Linked DNA regions of Homo sapiens: region 1 is linked to region 2. The links are contacts of gene promoters, found by promoter capture Hi-C in human tissues and cell types (Jung and others, 2019). All regions are on one chromosome and are shown on one strand. The core of a region is centred on a gene start or on the middle of the fragment in contact, and the rest is flanking DNA. Distances in the headings are between cores, read along the strand shown.

Region 1 (5,728 bases), core at 1,561-4,060, 41 kb before region 2:
ACTACCTTTCTCTGGGAAGTATGTATGTTTCACTTCAGACACATCAAAAGCCAATGTAGAATGTTTTATGGTCTCCAAAATGTCCTTCTCTCTTTGTTCAGCAGGCACACTGGGGTCCTTTTATTTCTTAATAATTATCTGTAGTTGAAATAATATTGTAGCTTTTCATTGATAATAAACTGGCAATAATGTAAACTCATAATGTAAGCTTCCACTTTTTAAAATATTATTTTTTAAAAAGTAGTGCGTGCACACAAATTAAAATGTTAAGTGCGCAAAGTGTTTTTTAAAGTCCTAGTTTCCTTCCTAAAGAGCAATTACTGTTACCTACTCTATCATTCCAGAAGATGTATGTTGTCTTAGTCTACTCTGGTTGCTATGACAGAATACCTTAGACTGGGTAATTTATAAACCACAGAAATTTATTTCTCACCATTCCAGAGTCTGGGAAGTCCAACACCAAAGTGTCGGCAGCTATAGTGTCCGGTAAAGGCTTGCTCTCTCCTTCCAAGAGGGTGTCTCCCTTCTGTGTCCCCATATGGTAGAAGGGCAAAAAGGGTGAACTCTCTCCCTCAATCACTTTCATAGGCACACTAATCTTTAATAAGTCATCTCCTAAAGGACCCACCTCTTAATAGTGTTGCACTGGGGACTTCCAGCATGAATTTGGAGAGTCACAAACATCAAACCATAGTACACATATATGAACAAATATATATTCTCTGTCTGTCTCTCCCCTCACTCTTTACTCTCCAACAAATATGATACCATATTAGTCATATTCTTTTGCAAAGAATTCTTTTTATTTTTTCACTCAACAATATATGTTGGTGATCATTTATTAGCACAGACAGACCTACCTCAATATTTTAATGGTTGCATAACATATCATTCCATTATCCTTCCAAAGACCCAGATATGACCTCTCTCTTGCTTTAGGCTAGTTAGGGTATTTCCAATCTTTTGGAATTATAAAATGCTGCAATTAACATCCTTTTACATGTATAATTTCAAACATATAGGAGAAGTTCCCATAGAATCAAAGAGTATTTGATGTGAAATTTTGAAAGATATTGACAAATTATTATTGAAAATGGCTGTGTCCTTTCATTTCTCCATTAGCACTATTTGAGAGTGTCTTGGTAAGAGAGTGTGTTATCAATTTTTTCTATTTGTCAATCCAATGGGTTAAAAATGGTTTCTTTGTGTATTTTGTAAGTTGAGTGCTTTTTCAAATGTTTAGAGTTAATATAGTTTTTTTTTCTATGAATTATCAAGATACTATGGCCATTATCCTACAGAGATAGACCATGAAAGAAAGATAAAAGCTTTTCCCCTGCTTTTGGAACAAAGGGATCCCACATTTTCATTTTGCCCTGAGCCTAAAAATTATATAGTCAGCCCTGGCTATTCTCAACCATATGCAGTATACTTTTGTTATTTTTTGATCTTTATATAAACCATAGTATGTGTATCCTGCATCTTGCTTTTTCATTAATTTTTTGTTTGCGGGCTTCAACCGTGTTAATGGTTGTAATAGTAGCTAAGCACACATAATGGTTCTATGAATATACTTGTACATATCTCTGGGTGCCCCTGTTCAAGGGTATTTTTAGGGATTGTGTGTACACATAAGCATGTGCATTTTGTGTGTGTGTGTGTGTGAGATTTCCTGGTCATAGGATATGCATATTTTTACTTTACTATGACCAAATTGTTATACAGAGTGGTTGTAGAAAGCTACATAGCATATATATATATATATATATATATATATATATATATATATATATATATATATATACAGTTTGTTTTGCAGTGATCTCCATCCTTACCAACATTTTAGTATAAAACTTTAACTTATTGTGGTTTTATCTTGCAACATCTTCATTATTTAAAAGGTTGAACATTTTTCATTTATTTAATAGCTATTTGGGCTGACTCTTCTGTGAAGTGTTTATTCCTATGTTTTACCACTGCTTTTGGGGGAGGCAGACTTTTCCTTTTTGCTTATCTTTGCATTTAGGAATCTTTTGATTAAGAAGTGTTATTAATTTTAACTCAGTTAACTTTCTTATCTTTTCATTTATATTTGTGCTTTTCGGGTCTTGTTTTCATCATTTTTTTCCTGCTCCAAGATCATAGAAATATTCTATATTTTTCCCCAAAGTCTTAAGTTTGTGGTTTCCATATCTAAATCTTTTTCCCTTTTATTTATTTTTGTGTATTCTTTTTTGTGTTGTTGTTGTCCATATAGAAAACAAATGATCATAGCATCATTTATTGAGCAACCCATTCTTACTGATCCGCAGTGACATTCCAGTTATATACTAGATTTCATTTTATGTGTGGGCTTGTTTCTACACGCTCTGTGCTGATCCACTGGTCTATCCTATGTTCCTGTGCCATATTATGCTCTCTTAATTAATCAAAGCTTTATTATATACACAGGGCAATGAAAACTGGCAAAACAGCTCGCCTCATCCTGTTCATCCTCTACAGGGGTGTTTCAGCTATTCTTGTGCTTCATTTTTCCATAAAAATTTTAGAATCTGCTTATCAAGTTCTGCAAACAGCTCTGGATTGAATTTGAAAGGAATTGCATTTTATTTATAGAGCAATTTGAAGAGAATGACCAAACTTTTAATATATTGTGTCCTTCTATCACAAATATTATATGTATACAAAATAAATATAAGGCCAGGTGTGGTGGCTCATGCTTGTAATCCCAGCATTTTGGGAGGCCAAGGTGAACAGATCACTTGAGCCCAGGAGTTCGAGACCAACCTGGGCAACATAGTGAGACCTCATCTCAAAAAAAAATAATAATAATAAATAAATAAATAGATAAATAATATATGCATTTATTTACGTTTACTTTAATGTATTTTAATAACATATATAATTTCAAAGAAGTCTTGCACAAATTTTGTTAGATTTATTCCTGGATGTATTATGATTTTGTTGGTATTTTAGGTGCTCTGTTTTGTTAAATTATGTCCATATTCTTGAGGAGTTTCTATATAAACAATCATATTACCTGCAAATAACCAAAGCTTAGTATTTCCTTTTATAATTCCTACATTTTATTTTTCCTTATCTTACTGCACAATGTTGAATCAAAGGCATCACTGTTGTTTTTTATTTTAAAGGGAGTAAGGTTAATTTTTTATTAGTAAGTATGGTTTGCGCTACAAATTTTTGGTAGGTACTCTTTTTAAAATAGCAATCATCACAGAGTAAGTTATATTGTGATAGCAAACAACATCCAGATCATGGGGGCTTACTGCAACAAAGATGTCTATTTGGTTTTATAACATGGAAACTGAGCTGGCCTCTACTCTGTTCCATTTCTGCTCCACATGCTTTTTTATTCTGGGATGGAAGTTGAAAAAGTAACATTTATTTAGGAGTGAGACCCTTGAGGAGGGGATGTGGGAGAAGAGTGTATTAGCTCTTAAAGCCTCTTTCAAGACTTAATAGACATCATTTCTGCTTTCCTGCTACTCCTGGCAGAGCAAGTCACATGGCCCAGGCTGGATGTCAGCCAACCAGGAAGTACACTTCTCTCATAGCGGGGAGGTGTGTAAAAACATTTGGGAACAATAATTCCTTGCTCCTTCTATTAAGAAGAACTATTATTTTAGTATGAGGTCTTTGGAGAGCTAGGAGACCACATATGTTTAAAGTTTATCTAATAGTATTGAAATAATTATTTAATTTGTTAATTTCATGAACTAAACTAGATTTTTTAATACAAAATATATTTTGCATTTATAGGATGATGCAAATTTATCATGGTGTGTTATATTTTTCACATATTCTTGGATTCAGTTTGCCAATATTTTTAAAGGATTTTTGCATTTATGTTCATGAGTAAATCATTTTTCCTGTCTCGAATTATCTCTATGTGAATTTCATATTGTGTTTATATTTATCTCACATATTTGCTAAGGAGTTTTTCTTTTTCTTTTTTTATTATCTGAAAGAATTTGTATAAGATTTGAATGAACTATTAACTATTCCTTGAATGTTTGGTGTAATTCTTATAAAACTATCCAAGCCTGGGCTTTTCTTTGTAAAAGTATTTTTAACTACTGACCTAATTTTTTAGTGGCTACTGAGACTGCTGGCTGGCTGGATACATCAAGATGTCATTTCTGACTTGGCCCTTTTCAGAGTATCTTCTTGTAAATAGACATATCTCAGAGACAACTACGGAATGATGTGGACAGGAAGGAAGAAGTTTTCAGACATGTGGTAGAACTGGGCAAGTTCTGAGCTCAGTTCTGGACAAAGCACAAGCAGGTACCAGGTCCTAGAGCGATGCCTCATCTACAATGGTCTCCTGATTAATCTGGACACCTGTGTATTGCAAAAAAACATGATAATACATAGATTGAAAAATAACAAGATGTGATTAGGAAATCACTTTTAAATACCTAAATTGGGAGATGCTATGAGGATAAAATATGCATATTCTATGCAAAGCAGAAAACCCAAAATGCCCTGGTTCACTAATTAAGCTATTTTTCTACTTTCTCATCCCTTTCCTTTCTAACTGTGGGGTGACTCCTGGCAAGATCTGCCCTCCACTGCCGGCTTCTGCACAAAGTTGAGAAATCAATATTATAATCATGCACTGTTTCCATAGCAAGTGCTCCTGCAGCTCTGAGCAAAACAGCACTTTCTAGACCCTGCCAGAGTATATGTGGCAAAGAAAGATTAATTAGCCACTCACTAATTGACAGTATTTCCCTCTACATCTGCTTGGGCCTGATGTGAGTTTAAATGTCTCTATTAAGTGCCTGAAGCTGATTGCACATGTATAAAATTTAATGTCCCTTCTCAAACCTCAGAGATGTCTGAGACCTCAGTTCCGTCTCTAAACAGTAGAGATGTGGGCAAAAGGCTTAGCGTGGACGGCAATTCTGGAGAGGCAACAGAGAACAGTTAGGTTAGGGGTTGGGGTCAGGCAGAAGTGCAGTAGGGTGGAGTGGGAGAGCTGAGGTGTAGCTCTAGTTCTTCAATAACCTGCCACGTGGCTGGCAAACCACGCTGCTTCTGTGGACTTCTCTTCTCGTTCAGGTGTTAGATTCTACCAGTGCTTTTCTAACTGTGTTTCCCAGAGCCCAAGAGAATCCAGGGTCCCCTTAAGGAAATTCTAGACTCTAAAGTGAGGCTGTTCAACAGAACTTCTGTCCAACAGAGCTTTCTGCAATGATGGAAATGTTCGATATCCACGCTGCCTGATGGGTAACCACTCATCACTTATGGCTATTGGGTCCTAGAATTGTGTATAATGTGTGTGAGAAACTGAATTTAAAAGATTTTTAACTCACATAGAGCTATCTTACTTTAAATTAATTAAAATTAAATAAAATATAAAACAAGAGTGGCTACCATATTGGACTGTGTGGCTCTGGAGGGTCTGGGCTCAGGCCTAAGTGAACAGCGTCCAGGGCTTAACTGAAAGCTGCAGTGATGTTATTTTAAAGAAAATCCTAAAGAGGAAGCAGAATCATTCATGAGGCTACTCCCACCCACCTCTTTAGCCTGTGAGTATCTCTATCTCCAAAGCCTACTGCTGCTTCAACCAGACACATCTGCCTTTGCTTGCAAAAATGTGCTTCTGAAATAGTTTTCCCTGAGCAAAAGGACATTTGCAGCTAAAGGACAGCTAAAAGACATTTGCAAACCACTGGATTAAATAATCTCCAAAGTTCTT
Region 2 (5,952 bases), core at 2,598-5,097:
ACCTCCCCTGATTCAGCCAAGCAGTATTCCAGGTGGGAACGGAACATACCCAAGGACAGAAAGAATTGTGATGCATGAATTTCGTCTGTAGGTAATGACTGAATAAAAGGGATAATGTTCTATTATAGCACAGTGTGGGCTGCTTGAATTCCCTTTTCATTCCAGAGATCAAGGGAAGAAATCATAGATTTCAGAAAATCATGGATTTGAGTACTGACTCTCCTACTTAACAGTTGTGCTTATTAGGATCTGTTTTAGAGAACCATTGCTAGTCCCTAATTAAAAATCTTTTTTGGTAAATTATGATCTTTAAAAATAACCTGACCTCGAGTCTAGAATTCTCTGTGAGTTCCCAGTGGACTTACTCTAGTTTCTTTTGATATCTTTTTTTTTTTAATTATACTTTAAGTTTTAGGGTACATGTGCACATTGTGCAGGTTAGTTACATATGTATACATGTGCCATGCTGGTGCGCTGCACCCACTAACTCGTCATCTAGCATTAGGTATATCTCCCAATGCTATCCCTCCCCCCTCCCCCCACCCCACCACATTCCCCAGAGTGTGATATTCCCCTTCCTGTGTCCATGTGATCTCATTGTTCAATTCCCACCTATGAGTGAGAATATAAAGCAATGGCAACAAAAGACAAAATTGACAAATGGGATCTAATTAAACTAAAGAGCTTCTGCACAGCAAAAGAAACTACCATCAGAGTGAACAGGCAACCTACAAAATGGGAGAAAATTTTCGCAACCTACTCATCTGACAAAGGGCTAATATCCAGAATCTACGATGAACTCAAACAAATTTACAAGAAAAAAACAAACAACCCCATCAAAAAGTGGGCGAAGGACATGAACAGACACTTCTCAAAAGAAGACATTTATGCAGCCAAAAAACACATGAAAAAATGCTCATCATCACTGGCCATCAGAGAAATGCAAATCTTTTGATATCTTATCTCTTTCTTCTATAGATTTTATTTGAGATTATAGGGTTGAAACTAAATCTCTGGATATTCCCTTCTCAAGTCCACTTTAGACTTTTTTCCCGAATTGTTTGAAATCTGTTTTTCCAAAGTCTTAGCACGTATCTGACCACATCCAGTTTTTCTTTTGCCGATAATCACTGCTTCTAAGTGTCCCAAGTAGTTTTCACTCACTAAAAGTGGTTCTTATAATCCAAACTAAGACTGACTCTAAATATCCCTATTTTTGTGACCAGTGGCTCCTATAGGTTTGGTGTATATGACAGCTTTTGTTTTGGAATCTCAGAAAAGTAGGGGTTTTCTATGAAGAGGTCAAAGAAAAAACAAGATAATTAGGAATAACTAACTCCTCTTCCCCCACCAAAAAATTTGAGCTCAAGGGACTACATAGCTCAATGGGAAATGAAATTCAACCAAGACTCTAGAAGACTAAGTAGAGTCCAGGGGATAAACAGCAGTAGAGTGGGGAGAGGGACACTGCCTTCTCTTCCTTAAGGAGCATGGAGGTCCTCTGAGGGCTTGGATAGTCAAGCAGCATGTCTGTGCCTGGCAGAGACAACCTCACAGACATCTCTGCAGCTAAGAGGATCCTGGCAAAAGGATGTGAGCAGAGCATTTCCTTCCGGGTTCATAGTTTTTCGGGAAAGTGTGTACCTCCATGATGTACAGTGGCACTCTCCCTCTAGCAGGTGGGTTTCTTTGAATTAGAGTTTAACTTCATCTTGGATTCCAATCAGGAGTCCCTCTTCCTCACTTGGTATCACTCATGAGGTCACATTTACCCTGATATTCCATGAAAACACTTTATCACCCACCTTCTAAACAGCCAATGTCTTAAGCAGTGAGTCTCATTGCTGTACCAATATTTTAACTGTGAAATAGTACAACTTTTCTACTAATAGTTGACATTGTATTCCCTATAGTAATTAGATTATGGGTGTTTCTTTCCCATTTTTTTTGTAATCAGTTTAAATCCTTTTTGAAATGTTAAACTAGTCTTTGGGAAAACATTTTTTGTCCCAAACTTAGGATATGCATTACTCCCTCATTCTTATATTTTAAAATATGTCTACAAATTTAGATCTCATTCTTTGATACCATCTACATAGCTAGTTTTATCTTATTTCCTCTTTTCTTATAAATTGACAACTTTCAGTGATGTTAGGTAAACATTGACTGTATGTCTAAGTCCTTCATCCTCCTGCCTGACTTCATAGGTCCCAAAGGTACCTCTTAGATTTGTGTTTGTGTTAGAGAGTGTCCACCATCTGTCGGCCTCATGTTGATTCTTCTATACCCTTCTGTTTATCAGAGTAGTAGGAAGACTGCAAAATACATTTCCCAAAATCCCTTGCTAGCTGGCATCCAATGGAGGGCAGGACATGAATGAAGGCTGGAGGGAAGAAGCCATTTTTTAAAAATACTTTCTGCTTGCACCTGTGGCAGTGCCAGCAGCAGCAGCCACATGGACAGCAACAGTGGTGACAGCAACAGCAAGATTAGCAGTTTGGGCAAGAACATAGAAGCAAGGGTGCCTGGTGAGCACAGGTTCCTGAGGCGCTGCTCAGGCAGCAGTTCTCCAAAGGAAGCAGCCTCTATGGCACAGTGTCCATGGGCTGTGGGTAAAATCATTTTCCCTATTGTCCTCCAGCTCTATGTGCAATCACAGTTTAGTGCAATTGCCAGTCCTTGGATAACCTAACCCTTCTTGTTTTACTCCTCTAACCCATTTCTATATTTTCATAACAGATTCCTTACATTAAATGCCCTCTGTCAAACACAGATCTGTTACTGTTCTCCTGATTGAGTAGCGTCCAAGGCAAGCTGGTAGGAATTTCAGCATGTGTGTGCAACATCAGCAGATGCAGTGCACCCAGAATGAATTTCATCATATCCTGGAAAAACGTTTGAGGAAGACTCGATTGACAATGTCAACTCTGCACACCACTGTTCTTTATCTCTTGGTAAAGAATCATCAACCTCTCAGATCCAGTGAAAGATTTTATGTTATTTACTGGCATTTAAAGACACTTGTTTGTGCTGTGCTTATTTCCCAGGAGGTCTGCATTCAAATTACTGGGGAAAAAATGCAAGACTTTTGCATCTGTTGAGCCCTTTCTTCTTTAAGGCATATGATTCATCACTCTCATCTCCCTGCTTTTTTCTTCCCCTTAGTCTCCTAAGAATTTTGAATGTATTTTCTTTTGATATTTCTTCTTCCCTTTTCTTTAGGAACTCTTCATCTTTGCAGATAAGCTGGCATTCAGAAGGAGGACACTTGAGAAAGAAAGGAAGCCAGTAGAATAATGCTATCACAGAAGAAAGGATGAGGTCAGTGTGGGCTCTAGTCTTACGCCACAGGTTAATTATCATCATATGTAGCCTCTAATTAAGATAAAATATGGAGAATATCTTATTCCCCCACAAAATGAAAGGGAACTTAGCTTAAACTATGGAATAATTTCATAGGTTACCACAGGCAAATTCATGCCCATACCTCTATATTCAGGAACTCTTCCTTCATCATCCTGAGCAATGAGGAAGGGGACTACTGACTCCAAATTTTGGAAATATTTATGTCATGGCCCATTGCCCTGATGGATTTGTTGACCTTTAATATTTAGAATCTCTGCCTCTATGCATGTTACCCCCGATATCTGCATGTAACACAGATATGGTAGATTTAGAAGATGACACTTGATTAGACACAAAATGTGGAAGAAAAAATATCAAACTGTGTAGCTGAATGTTACCCAGAAGTGAAGAAAGGCATGCAGCCAGATTTCCCCAGCTCTTTGTTTCATCACATGATGTTGCTTGGATATCAGCTTATCAACAGACTTCCACCACCACCACCAGCATATAAACAGAGTCCGCGTAAGAAAACTACACTGAATAGGAATGGCAGCTTTTAAAAGTGGGGGAACTACAGTATAGGGTAAGTTCTTTTTAGGCAAATCTGTCTTTTTGTTTCAGATATATTATTTTGTAGATGTTTCTCTCCCTGAATTCCATGAGTATTTTAATCAAATTTTATCAGGTATAGGCCACTTGAATAGGTAAGATAAATTTATTCAGCAGTAGCCCCAGAAAAGCACACATGAATTGTTGCCATAAGAAAGAGCATCAGTCATTTCTTTATGCTATTTGAGGAGAGAAGAAATCTTTCCAGCTTGAAGCATATTTATTCTCTGTTCTACAGATCTGGAAAATGGGAGGAGGGATATTGAAATGATTTGAGTACAGGATAGAGCGTAGGTGTCAATCACAGAGAATATTACAGGAGTATATCTTGGTTGGTATGGTTTCTGGAGTGCACATTAAAGGAAAGCAGTACTGACTAAAATATTTACAGTTTAATTTAGACATTTATATAGCAGAAACAGTACACACAGAGATGTTGACTAATGTTTTCCTAATAAATTTCTCTTCTGGAAGAATGGAACCTTCGATGTGTGAACTCAAATCAGTCTCCACATGTATTACAATACTCCTTAAGCATGTGTATGTTTATGAACCTATGAGTGTGCATGTGTTTGTGTGCATGAACATGCGTGAAGGTCGGGTAGAGAGAGAAGAAACTGGCATAAAGTGAGAGCATTCTATATTCACGATTTCAGTGAATCAAACACCCAGTGAGGTAGGCATTGTAACTGCTGTCTTAAGGATGAGAGGGCTGAGGCTTACAGAAGGAAAGAAACTCAAGTCTTTCTAGTTCTAAAGGCCATACAGCCTCTATTACAGTTTATTTTCTTCAGTTAATATACGTGCAGGTATTAATAATAATCTACGTTTAGCAGATTGTTACTATGTTTGATTTGCTGTGGTCTTACTTTCTATCATTCAGTAATTCACACTGCTAACAAAGACAAAGGAGTAAGCAGAGGGGAAAATACTCTGGGTTTGCACTTTGTGATTTGGCAACCTATTCCAATATGTCTATTCTTGCTGGATTGTTAAATTCATATTATTATACACACTTCAGACTCTAAACCCTAAATCACCAGGAAAGGAGACTTAATCATAGCAAATGTGACTCTATTATTCTGTATCTTTCTCAGGCAAGTGGAAACATGACAAGTTTAATAGTTTTATAGTACAATGCTATAAAATTGCACATCTAAATTGCAAGAAGTGGAGAATGACGTAAAGGCATACTACACTGCCACTAAAAATCATATTTTTAAGGAATATTTAATGATCTGAGAAAGTGCACAAAATGTATAAATTATGATCTCCCTTTTCTAAAATTACACACAATGTACACAGAAAAAAAAAATAAATAAATAAAAGGAAAGTGAAGCTCAGCATGGTGCCTCATACCTGTAATCCCAGCACTTTGGGAGCCTGAGGTGCAGGATAACTTGAGCCCAGGAGTTTGAGACCAGCCCAGGGAACATAGGGAGATCTTATCTCTACTAACAATTTAAAAAATAATTGGGTGTGGGGTGTGTACCTGTAGTCCCAGCTACTCAGGAGGCTGAGGTGGGAGGATGGCTTGAGCCCAGGAGTTCAAGACTGCGGTGAGCTATAGTCGCACCACTGTGCTCCAGCCTGGATGATAGAGTGAGACTCTGTCTCAAAAAAACATATAAATAAATAAACAAATAAAAGGAAATCAACCAAATGCTAACAATAATTATGGATAGTTAGATGCAAGTTGAGTATGCCTTATCCAAAATGCTTGGGACCAGAAGTGTTTTGAATTCCAGATTTTTTTTTTTTGATTCTGGAAAATTTACATTATCTTTGCCAGTTGAGCCTCCCAAATTCAAAAATCCAAAATCCAATATGCTCCAATGAACATATCCTTTAAGCATCTTGTGGGCACTAAAAAAGTTTTGGATTTGGAGCTTTTCAGATTTTGGGCTTTTAGATTTGGGATGCTCAACTTGTATGAGTAATCTTATTTTCTTCTTCAATTTTTAAATTTTTCCAAATCTTCCAAAACAATATATATTA

The links. Contacts are between HindIII fragments. The study calls those that stand out against the background at their distance.
Region 1: a contact is called between a fragment that was not itself captured here and the fragment with the promoter of FAM216B in region 2, in 3 of the 25 tissues and cell types used here (H1 embryonic stem cells, aorta and ovary).

What each region holds. Positions count from the first base shown.
Region 1 is chr13:42,737,426-42,743,153 of GRCh38, forward strand. The region is part of intron 1 of LOC124903164; the gene reads right to left. Among named protein-coding and RNA genes, the nearest start is that of FAM216B, 41 kb to the right of the region's middle. The HindIII fragment of the contact is 4,084 bases long and covers 769-4,852 here.
Region 2 is chr13:42,777,737-42,783,688 of GRCh38, forward strand. FAM216B (family with sequence similarity 216 member B) reads left to right here and starts at 3,848. Exons shown (of 4, transcript NM_001318932.2): 1 at 3,848-3,928. The HindIII fragment of the contact is 10,798 bases long and covers 1-5,952 here.